Regions from separate parts of the Homo sapiens genome. Here region 1 is linked to region 2. Evidence: promoter capture Hi-C in human tissues and cell types (Jung and others, 2019). All regions are on one chromosome and are shown on one strand. The core of a region is centred on a gene start or on the middle of the fragment in contact, and the rest is flanking DNA. Distances in the headings are between cores, read along the strand shown. Region 1 has its middle 5.9 kb from the start of CHD6. Region 2 holds the start of IFT52 (intraflagellar transport 52).

Region 1 (5,932 bases), core at 2,440-4,939, 2.0 Mb before region 2:
CGTCTCCAGAAACAGAGCCTGATTCTACAGGGCAGGAGTAAAGCAAAAGGAGTAAAGTGGAGGCGAAGGAAGAGCCAGTACCAGGATGGTTATTAATCTGGCCTCCACTAAGTATGGCTGATTGCTTCTGCTCAAGGGATTATCCTCTGAGAAATATAAAATGAGTCTCAGAATAGCCTATGGGAGGGGGAAGGGAAGGAAATTTATCCATCAGCTCATCTCATTGGATAAAGACTCATACCAGTTGTTCATGCATAGGTGCCAAGTGGGCTTCTGCAGTGTCCCAAAACTCAGTGTCAACAGGGAACCTAGCAAGAGGCACATGGCAGGGCCACAAGGCAAAGTGCTGTCAGGGTGCAGCTGTGTGAAGTCAGATGGTGCCCACGCAGAGCTTGATGCCACAGCAGCTGCTGGAATGAAAGATGATTGATGCTACAAGGGTGATGCCAGTGATGCAAAAATTTTTGTACCATATAGTGTGCCCCATTTCCAAAGGGCCCCAGAAAAGCAATCCTTGAGAGCTCTGAAGGGAGCCACAGAAGGGCTTCCAGCAGTTCTGGAACTTTCTTATAGTAACTCCACAAAAGAAGAGTTGCATCCCACCCGAATCTGTTCTCTCTTGCTTTCATGCCTGTGTTCACTTGTCTGTTTCCTCTATTAGACCATGAGCTTCTTTATTGTTCTTGTTAATATATCTGTGACAGGAAAAACAACTCTTTTCACCAGCCCATTTCATTTTCCTCCTAGGCTCATAAAAAAATTACATTTCTCAGTAATCAGGTAGGCCCATGTGACTGAGCTCTGGGTAATGGAATCTGGACAGAAGTGGTAAATATATCCCATTTCTGGACATCCCCCAAAAACTCCCGTGAGATCTTTCAAACTTCTCCTTTCCTCATTCCTGGCCAGATGCAAAAATATTGAGTGGAGGACTCAGAGGCCCCAGAAAATGGCAGTGGTGGCTCACTGCATGGACTAGAACGTCTGTGCTCACTTGCACTGGATTGTGTTGTAAGCAAGAGATAAAATGTCACAGTGTCAAGTCACTGAAATGTGAAGGTTGTCTGTTACCTGTCTGATACAGTACTTGTCTAACTTCATGTGATTCCGTGTCACTCCAGGGCAGGGACTGTGCTTGTAACTCAAGCACAATTGCAATGCGTGGCACATAGTAGGCATTTCTTGAAATATGGACAAGAGTGAATGAGCTGATACTTGAGCCTGGTCTTAAAGATCAGAGGTAGAATGCCAAGCAAGGTGGCAAGTGGAAAGTGTTCCATGAAGGAGGTGTAGCATGTGTAGAGGTAGAGAAACTAGGGAAAATAGAGTCTGTTCTCAGCCCAGCAGAAGGGTCATGGATATGGTTAGGGTGAGGCTAGAGAGAAGGCAAGGGTCAGATCACAAAAAGTCTTGTATGTTACATGAAGGAGTTTGAAATTTATCCTACAGGAATCATTCAAGGATTTAAAACAAGAATGTGATGTCATCAAGTTTATCTTTAACAAATATCTCTCTAGCTACCTGGAAAAGGATGGATTAGAAAGGGAGAGTCAGAAATACAAAAAATTTTTAAAGCAGCATTTCATTCTTCCCAAGTTATTTGTCCCATAAGATGTTCCACTAAAAAGAGGTTTTGGGGACAAGTTAGTTTGGGAAGTTGAGTATACTGTAGCCCCTCCTGGAGGTTCTTGGAGATTTCTGTTCACATATTAAAAACCCTGAGAGGTCCTACATTAATGAAATCTGTTAAAGTTTAATGTAATAGTTCTCAAAATTATTTGACCACAGAACCCTTTTTTCATTGAACACCTATTAAAACTGGTATCACGGCCAGGCGCGGTGGCTCATGCCTGTAATCCCAGCACTTTGGGAGGCCGAGGTGGGTGGATCATGAGGTAAGGAGATCGAGACCATCCTGGCTAACATGGTGAAACCCTGTCTCTACTAAAAATACAAAAAATTAGCCGGGCATGGTGGTGGGCGCCTGTAGTCCCAGCTACTTGGGAGGTTGAGGCAGGAGAATGGCGTGAACCTGGGAAAGGGAGCTTGCAGTGAGCCGAGATTGCACCACTGCACTCCAGTCTGGGCGACAGAGTGAGACTCCATCTCAAAAAAACAAACAAACAAAACAAAAAACAAAAAACAACAAAAAAACTGGTATCACTTAGGACTCAATTTGGCTGCATAAATATGAGAAAATGATATAATAAGATTAAAGTTTATTTCTGTCTTAAATAAAAGAAATTTGGGAAGCAGGCCGTCCAGGGGTGGCATGGCAGCTGTCCGGTACCTTCAGGAATCCAGGCTTCAATGTTTTTGCTCCATTATCCTTAGCTTTCATTCCCAAGGTCACTTCATGGTCCAAGATGGCTGCTGGAGCACCAGTCTACATGTCCTTGGAAGGAAAAAGGAAAGGCAAAGTGGAAAAAGTGGAGTTGAGTCCCTTAAACAACCTTCCTGGAAATACTACACATTTTACTTTTGTCTCATTGTCCAGAACTTGGTCACATGACCATGCCAAGCTGCAAAGGAGGCTAGGAAATCTGGTCTTTTATTTTGCTTTTCTATGTGCCAAGTTAAAAATTGGGTCTGTCACTAAAGAGTTGAGAGACTCAACTAGCAGTTTCTGGCATAATGCCCCACAGAAATAATGTTCCACAGAACCTAAATTGGGATAAAATGACTAAGTAAGGAGATTGATTTTTTAAACATTTTTAGCAGCTTTATTGTGGTATAATTCACATACCATACAATTTGCTTACTGCAAGTATACAGTTTGACGATGTTTAGTAAATTTATACAGTTGTGCAACCATCACCACAATCCAGTTTTAGAATATTTCTGTCACCCTCAGAAGTTCCTTGTTCCCTCTTGCTGTCAATCTCCACTCCCACCCCCAGGCCTGGGAAACCATTGATCTGCTTTCTTCTTTGGAGTTCTGCCTTTTTGAGAAATTTCGTATAAACAGAATAGTACAATATGTAGTCTTCTGTGTCTGGCTTATTTAATGTAATAATTGTGTGGTTCATTGTGTTGTAGAGTGTTTTGTCAGTTTGTACTTTTTAAAATTGCTTGAATGGCATTCCATTGTCTGCATATGCCACTCCATTGTCTGCATATGCCACCTTTTATTTATCACTTACTAAATGATGGACATTCGGATTGTTTCCACATTGGGACTATTATGAATAATGCTGCTATAAACCTTCAAGTAGAAGTCCTTGTGTGGACATATGTTGTCATTTCTCTTGGGTAGATGCCTAAGGAGACTGGTGTTTAAAACTGAATTCGTTCACTGAAAAGACATTTATTGAGTGCCTATTACTGACAAGTATTGTGCTAGATGCCAAGGATACAGTAGTGAATAAAATTTGACACAAACTCAGCCCTCATGGAGCTTGCAGTCTATAGAAGAGAAAGGCATTAGTCCAGTAGTCATGCGAACAAACGTAACATCACAGCAGTGGTAAGTGTGTGCTATAAAGGAGGGGTATAAGATGCTGTGAGAGATTATGCTAGAAGGATCTGCCTTTGTCAAGGAGGTCAGGAAAGCTGCCCTTGAGCTGAGTTCTGAAGTGTGTGAGAATGTAGTCACTCTGATTTCTGTCTTTCAAAGTAATATCTTAAGAAGCCATATACTTATTTCCAATAATGCTGCCCTTGCAAACATGTCTGAGCCAGTTTATAGACACACTGGTCTTGGGCCTATTTGTGCTTAGATAAAGTCTCTGTGTTTTAATCTCTCAGAGTTTTTGAAAACTGTGAAGCAAGCACAACGCACTGTCAGTAAAGGTACCTTTTCAGTCATCTCTCTCTCTCTCTTTTTTTTTTTCTTCAGAGACAGGATCTTGCTGTGTTGCCCAGGCCGGTCTCAAACTCCTAGACTCAAGCAATCCTTCTGCCTTGGCCTCCCCACACACTGGGATTACAGGCATGAGTCACTGCTCCCGGCCCATCTCTTATATTATTTTCTGTATGTTTGAAATATTTCATGATTAAACATCTTAAAAATATCCTTTTTAGTTCCCTTGAGAATTGTACCTGCCAAGCAGCCCAGCCTGTCTTGTCAGACCCTGACCTTGTTCTCTCTCTGTGGGAAGAGGAGACATGATCAGAAGGTGATTTCTGGAACCTGGAACTGAGGGGATGATGCTAATAGCCAGTATTCTGGAACTACACTGGTCCAATCCCTGTATCTCTACTGTAGGGGTGAATCTGCCACAAGGCATCCTCCTGCCAGAAGCTCCATTCTCCAGCACAAAGCTGGATAAGACTAGTTAAGCCCACAGGCTTTGAAGCCCTACAGATGTGGTTCAAATCTCAGCTCTACCACTAGTGTCCTTAAGAAAGTCACTTAACAGGCCAGGCATGGTGGCTCATGCCTGTAATCACAGCACTTTAGGAGGCTGAGGTGGGTGGAACACCCGAGGTCAGGAGTTTGAGACCAGCCTGGCCAACATGGTGAAACCCTGTCTCTACTAAAAATGGAAAAATTAGCTGGGCTTGGTGGCACACACCACTGTAATCCCAGCTACTCAGGAGGCTGAGGCAGGAGAATTGCTTGAACCTGCGAGATGGAGGTTGCAGTGAGCCAAGATTGTGCCACTGCATGCCAACCTGGGTGACAGAGTGAGACTCCATCTCAAAAAAAAGAAAAAAAAAGAAAGTCACTTAACTTACAGTTTCATGATTCCAATAATAGGGTTGTTGTGTGGATTAAATGATTCATGCAAAGTGCTTTGCACATGGCAACTGCTCAACAAATTGGTTATTAATATATAATTATCGCAGCCTTTCCTCTGCCTCCCATTTCCCCGTGTTCTGTATAGACTTTCCCCCTTTGTCGACCTGCAGGTTTTGAAACATATTAATTCCATTGATTTAACTGAAGTCAATCTCTGTTCTTGTGTTTGGCTTGGGGAACCTTCTGTCTTTTGGAGTGCCTTCTACTGATATATGGCCTCTACCCCTCATGTATTAATCTCACTGATTTAACTCTTACAGTGCCACAGAGCTCTCACTCTCACCCATGTATAGCACTACCGCTATTTTGATTTTTTAAATCCAAGGTTATATATAAAAATGACTGTGGTCCCTTTCAGTTACTATGATTTATGGAAAATCACACCTCAAATGTTCTTGGGCAGGATTTTTCAAAAACGCTGGTCACGCTACCCTGAAACAGCTTCGTAAATCCTTCATTCTTGCTCAGCAGTGTACTTTCCTGCAATGACCATTAGACAGTTTCAGCCATAAAAACTTGCTTAAGGCCGGGCGCTGTGGCTCATGCCTGTAATCCCAGCACTTTGGGAGGCCAAGGCGGGTGGATCACTTGAGGTCAGGAGTTCGAGACCAGCCTGGCCAACATGGTGAAACCCTGTCTCTACTAAAAATACAAAAATTAGCTGGGCATGGTGGTGTGCGCCTGTAACCCCAGCTGCTTGGGAGGCTGAGGCAGGAGAATCACCTAAACCTGGGAGGCGGAGGTTGCAGTGAGCTGAGATAGCACCATTGCACTCCAACCTGGGCAATAGAGCAACGCTCTGTCTCCAAAAACAAACAAACAAACAAACAAAAAAAAAAAAAAACAAAAAAAACCACAGCAACAAAAAAGTTCTTAAGCTTTTTACTAAGCCTCAAGTTGCTGTAGAATCCTTTTCTTTATGTGTGCAATTCTACCATCAACATTACTGACCAATTTGGTGAGGCTACCGTCTGAAAACTGGTAATAAAAATAAGCAACACAGTTTTACATACTAGAAACAAAAAACTATAGTTTTAAAAAATTAATTAGTTTCCATGTTTTTGCTGAGGTGAAGCATGGTAACTGTCCTTCCAGTTGGCCCCCAGTGATACTCACTTGCTGTGATTCAAACCCTTATACTGCCCTCTCCTGTACTGAATAGACCTGATTTATGTATGTAACCAGTAG
Region 2 (5,200 bases), core at 1,732-4,231:
ATGTGCTAAGAACGCTGAAAGATACACACTGATTTCCATCTTAATAGTGCCAGATAATTGACAAATTTGGGACAAGATGAGGGAGAGGTCAAAATCCCCCTAACTTCCCAAAGCAAAAAAACAGGAGTATAATGATCAGAAACGTAATAGTAGTGTCAGAAGCACACAATCAGCTGTGGACGGTGAAACATATAATGGTTCTATCTGTTCTGAGATTGTAAAAGCACAATTATTTTCATCAGGATAAAAAATAAAAATGAAAAACTATGCTGTTGAATGGAACATGCTACAACCTATGTTTATTGAGCACATTCCAAGTTTTATATGCATTATCTACAATCCTCACTATAAGCCAGCATTTAGAAATTATGAACTTCAGACTGGGCGCAGTGGCTCACGCCTGTAATCCCAGCACTCTGGGAGGCCAAGGCAGGCAATTCACGAGGTCAAGAGTTCAAGACCAGCCTAGCCAAAATGGTGAAACCCCGTTTTTACTAAGAATACAAAAATTAGCCGGGCATGGTGGCGGGTGCCTGTAATCCCAGCTACCTGAGAGACTGAGGCAGGAGAATTGCTTGAACCCAGGAAGCGAAGGTTGCAGTGAGCGGAGATCATGCCATTGCACTCCAGCCTGGGCAACAGAGCAAGACTCAGTTTCGGCAAAAAAAGAAAGAAAGAAAGAAATTATTAACTTCGCTTTACAGATAGGATACATTTGCTCAGAGATTATGAAAACTGCCCAAGGTCACCCAGCTGGTACAAGTCACAGCGAGGAATTGAACTTGGTGACAACTACTGATTCTAAAAGTCTTACTCTTGCTTTTTTGGGGGGGGAAGCGGGGACGGAGTTATGCTCTTGTTGCCCAGGCTGGAGTGCAATGGCGCAATCTCAGCTCACTGCAACCTCTGCCTCCTGGGTTCGAGTGATTCTCCTGCCTCAGTCTCCCAAGCAGCTGGGATTACAGGCGGCCGCCACCACACCCGGCTAATTTTTTGTATTTTTATTTTTATTTTATTTTTTATAGAGACGGGGTTTCACCATGTTGGTCAGGCTGGTCTCGAGCTCTTGACCTCAAGTGATCCACCTGCCTTGGCCTCCCAAAGTGCTGGGATTACAGGCGTGGGCCACTGCACCCGGCCAAAACTCTTACTCTTTCTGCAATCTCTAACAGTGGGAGAAATGCTCTGGGCAGGTGCTGTAGCAAACACTGACTGCATATCAGGCAGAAAGATCCCAAGATTTGTCCCAGCCTTCAAATGGGACGGCCTACTCTCTCTTCAGTGAGAATACTTCATTTCCATTATTACCCTAACTGCAAACTGTATTCACCCAATTCTGCACCAAAATACAGCATCCCCAAGAAGAGAACTTTTTTTTTTTAAGAGACAGAGTCTCACTCTGTTGCCCAGGCTGGGGTGCAGTGGAGCGATCATGGCTCACTGCAGCCCGAACTCCTGGGTTCCAGCGATCTTCCCACCTCAGCCTCCCAAGTAGCTAAGACTACAGGTGTGTGCCACCATGCCTGGCTAATTTTCTTTTTTTATTTATTATTACTATTATTATTGGAGAGAAAAGGTGTTACTGTTACCCAGGTCCCAGACTCCTGGCCTCAAGCAGTCCTCCCACCTTGGCCTCCCAAAATGCTGGGATTACAGGCAGAAGCCACTTCATCTGACCAAAGAGAATTCTCAAATCACCCTGTTCTCCACTTTCTTTTTGAGACAAGGTCTCACTGTGTTGCCTAGGCTAGAGTGCGGCGGCACCATGACGGCTCACTGCAGCCTCAACCTCCTAGGATCAATCAATCAATCCTCCCACCTCAGTCTCCCAAGCAGCTGGGACTACAGGCGCGCGCCACCACGCCCAGGTAATTTTTCCTATTTTTAGTAGATACCGGGTTTCGCCATGTTGCCTAGGCTGGCCTCAAACTCCTGGGCTAAAGAGATCCACCTGCCTCGGCCTCCCAAAGTGCTGGGATTACAGGAGAGAGCCGCTGCGCCCGGCCCGTCTCCACTTTTAAAATTTCCAGTGACAGAAATTGTGGAAAGCAACACGAGTTGTATGTGTTTTAATATCCTAGATTCGAAGACAAACATAAATGTAAATAAAAACTGTCAGAGCTCTCTGCAATCTTCAGTTTGGGTCTTCCAGGCTGCTGCAGCGTTGTTCACAAATCCACACACCTCTAAAGGCAGGCACAGAGCGCTTTCCTGGGTAGTCGGGTGGCCTGTTGGTAGTTGCAGGCTTCTGGTTTCCCATCTTAATGGCGATGGCAGGGCAACCTGTATTGGTGGTGCTTTTGCACAAGCAGTTCTTTCTGCCGGGAACGCCCTTCCCCAGCCTTTGCCTTAATGAATACCACTCTCTCTTCAAATCTCTGCTCAACAGGGGCGCCTTTTTGACCAGCTTAGTCGTTAGACTCCCTAATACAGTTCATAGTTTTCACATTTTTGTAGAATCTATTCAAGTTCTAACTCCCCGCCATGCTCGCCGGCGCTCAAGCCTAGTACCATGGCAAGCAAAGATGCGGAGTTAATAAAACAGAATTATACGGTTTATCATTCTCAACACTAAACCTGCGCACCCTTTTCCGTTAAGTAGTTCCTAATAGTCCAGCACAGCCTTCCGCCCGGCCCCGCCCTCGCCTGGCTCCACTCTGCTCCTGCGCTTTGGGAATCGAAGCTGGGGCGTTCTCCAACCCCCCCGCGCTGGAAGCCTTCACTATTCTCCTCCCTGTGGGTGGAGCGAAGTTTGGGCACTTGGGTCCTACCGTTGTTATTAGTCTTTACTCGTAATTGATACTAAAGAACAAAATTAAATGGGTTTATTTTTGGTGAAAAGTTAATTCTCCTTATGTTTGGATTTGCCCCTCATGCACCAAATGGTACAGCCCCACATCAGTCAGGCTGCCTACCCCTGACGCCTGCGACGGAGAGGCGCCTTCCGTGCTGTCGTCATCACGTCGGCCGGAGCTAGCGCTGCGTCCTGGGCCACGCCTCCCGGCGCACCGACGCGCCTCTCCGGTTACTAAGCGGCCTTGGATACCTGGCCGCGGGATGCTGGGCGGCGTCAGGTGAGCGGTGGTCGCTGGGCCTCAGGTAAAGGGCGCCAACAGTGGTGGGCCGGCTGGGGCGTTGGTGCGGCCTGGGAGCTGGCGAGGGACTCGCCGCACTCTTCGAGGCCGCTGGGCCGGTCATAGAACATCCAGGGTCCCCCGGGGTGAAGTAAACTGTGGGCGCGGACGTAGCCCGGGTTCCTGGCGCCCCGGCTGGGCGCCCATCTCCACGGCCTCGGGTGGTGCAGGTGTTTAGTCGTTCCGCTGACTATGAAAGAGCATGGGACGAGGAATCGTACAGTCTTAATCTCTCTTCTGTCGTGGCTGCGACCCCTCGGTATTCATGTGGGAAAATACTGATTTGACTGGTAATGTTATTGAAGAGAAAGCGAGAGAATGGTTTGGCAGCGTTACCCAAATATTTGTTATTTTTATAGTTTTAAAGGCCTTATACTATTATTAAGGAAATGCATTTCTGGCTAAGTCTGACAGTACAGGAACGCAGACCTGCTACTCTCACCAGGGGCTGAACTAACAGAACAAAAAAAGATAGATGTATCACGGTGGTGGGACCATGGAGGGGGCAGTTTTTCAACTGGACAAAATGATGTTAAAGTGCTTAAAGAAGGATAAATATGTGAAAGTAGCCAGGAAAATTCTAAAATTAATGCTAATAAGGGAGATTAGCTCTCCAGAACCACCAGATATTATAACATAAAGGTATAGCAATTAAACTAGCATAGAAGATGGGTGCAGCAGTGTGGGCCCGTAGTCCTGGCTACTTGGTAGGCTGAGGCGGCAGGATCCCTTGAGCCCAGGAGTCAGAGACCAGCATGGGTATCAAAAGGAAACCCTGTCTCTGAAAATAAATAAATTAATTTAAAAAGTTTGGGACTCAGCAGGAGCTTACAGGTAGATAAAATATATTAGAACTCAGAATAAGAGCGATTTATATATAGGGATTTATTATATAGGCGAGGTGGTACTGTATTTCAAATCAGCATTGAAGAGATGAATTGGGGTCAGGCAGCTTTTTTAGCAATTTAGAAAATAATTAAACCAGTCGAGCGAGGTGGCTCACACCTGTAATCCCAGCACTTTGGGAGGCCAAAGCGGGTGGATCACTTGAGGTCAGGAGTTCCAGACCAGCCTGGCCAACCTGGTGAAACACCGTCTCTACTATGGCGCGCGCCTGTAATCCCAGCTACTGGGGAGGCTGAGGCAGGAGAATTGCTTGAACTTGGGAGGCGGAGGTTGCAGCGAGCCGAGATTGCACCACTGCACTCCAGCCTGGGTGACAGAGCAAGACTATGCTTTGAAAAAGAAGGAAAAAAAAAAGGAATGAAGCCCATTTTGAGCACCACAATAATTTCCAAATGGACTAAAATTTAAATGTTAAAAAATTACATCACGAATTAGCCGGGTGTGTTTGGGCGCCTGTAGTCCCAGCCGCTTGGGAGGCTGAGGCACGAGAATCTCTTGAATCTGGGAGGCAGAGGTTGTGGTGAGCCGAGATCGTGCCACTGCACTCCAGCTTAGGCCACAGAGCAGACTCTCTCAAAAAAAAAAAAAAATTACATCATGAAGTACTGAAGTAAAGCATTGTTGAATTTATTTATAATCTTAGAATGACAAAAAACTCTTCTAAGTGTTTCATGTCATCCAGAAGCCAGGAAGGAAAAGATTCATACTTTTAACTCTATAAAATTTAAAATCTATATGGCCTGCAAAATTCAACCAAACCAAAAAAACTACCAGAAGCCAAATAAACTTATGAAAATGTTTGTTTAATGATCAATTAGAAAATTATGAAACCCGACTGGGTGCAGTGGCTCATGCCAGTAAACCAGCACTTTGGGAGGTTGAGGTAGGAGGATCACTTGAGGTCAGGAGTTCAAGGGCAACATAGCGAGACCTTGCTTCTACAAAAAATTTAAAAATTAGCTGGACACTGGTGCGCGCCTGTAGTCCCAGCTACCCATGAGGTTGAAGTGGGATGATTGCTTGAGCCTGGGAGGTCAAGGCTACAGTGAGTTGTGATTGCAGCACTGCACTCCCAGCCTGGGTCACAGAGTGGGACTTTTATCTCAAATAATAATAATAAGAAGAAGTTTTTAAAAAGAAAAATTTAAAGAGAAAAATGA

Evidence for each region. The method cuts DNA at HindIII sites, captures the fragments that hold promoters and counts their contacts. A contact is called where the count stands out against the background at its distance.
Region 1: a contact is called between a fragment that was not itself captured here and the fragment with the promoter of IFT52 in region 2, in 1 of the 25 tissues and cell types used here (dorsolateral prefrontal cortex).

The regions. Positions count from the first base shown.
Region 1 is chr20:41,621,310-41,627,241 of GRCh38, forward strand. No RefSeq gene overlaps it. Among named protein-coding and RNA genes, the nearest start is that of CHD6, 5.9 kb to the left of the region's middle. The HindIII fragment of the contact is 4,539 bases long and covers 1,421-5,932 here.
Region 2 is chr20:43,587,956-43,593,155 of GRCh38, forward strand. It overlaps IFT52 (intraflagellar transport 52), which reads left to right and starts at 2,982. Exons shown (of 14, transcript NM_016004.5): 1 at 2,982-3,099. RefSeq lists an enhancer at 3,104-3,173. The HindIII fragment of the contact is 21,857 bases long and covers 1-5,200 here.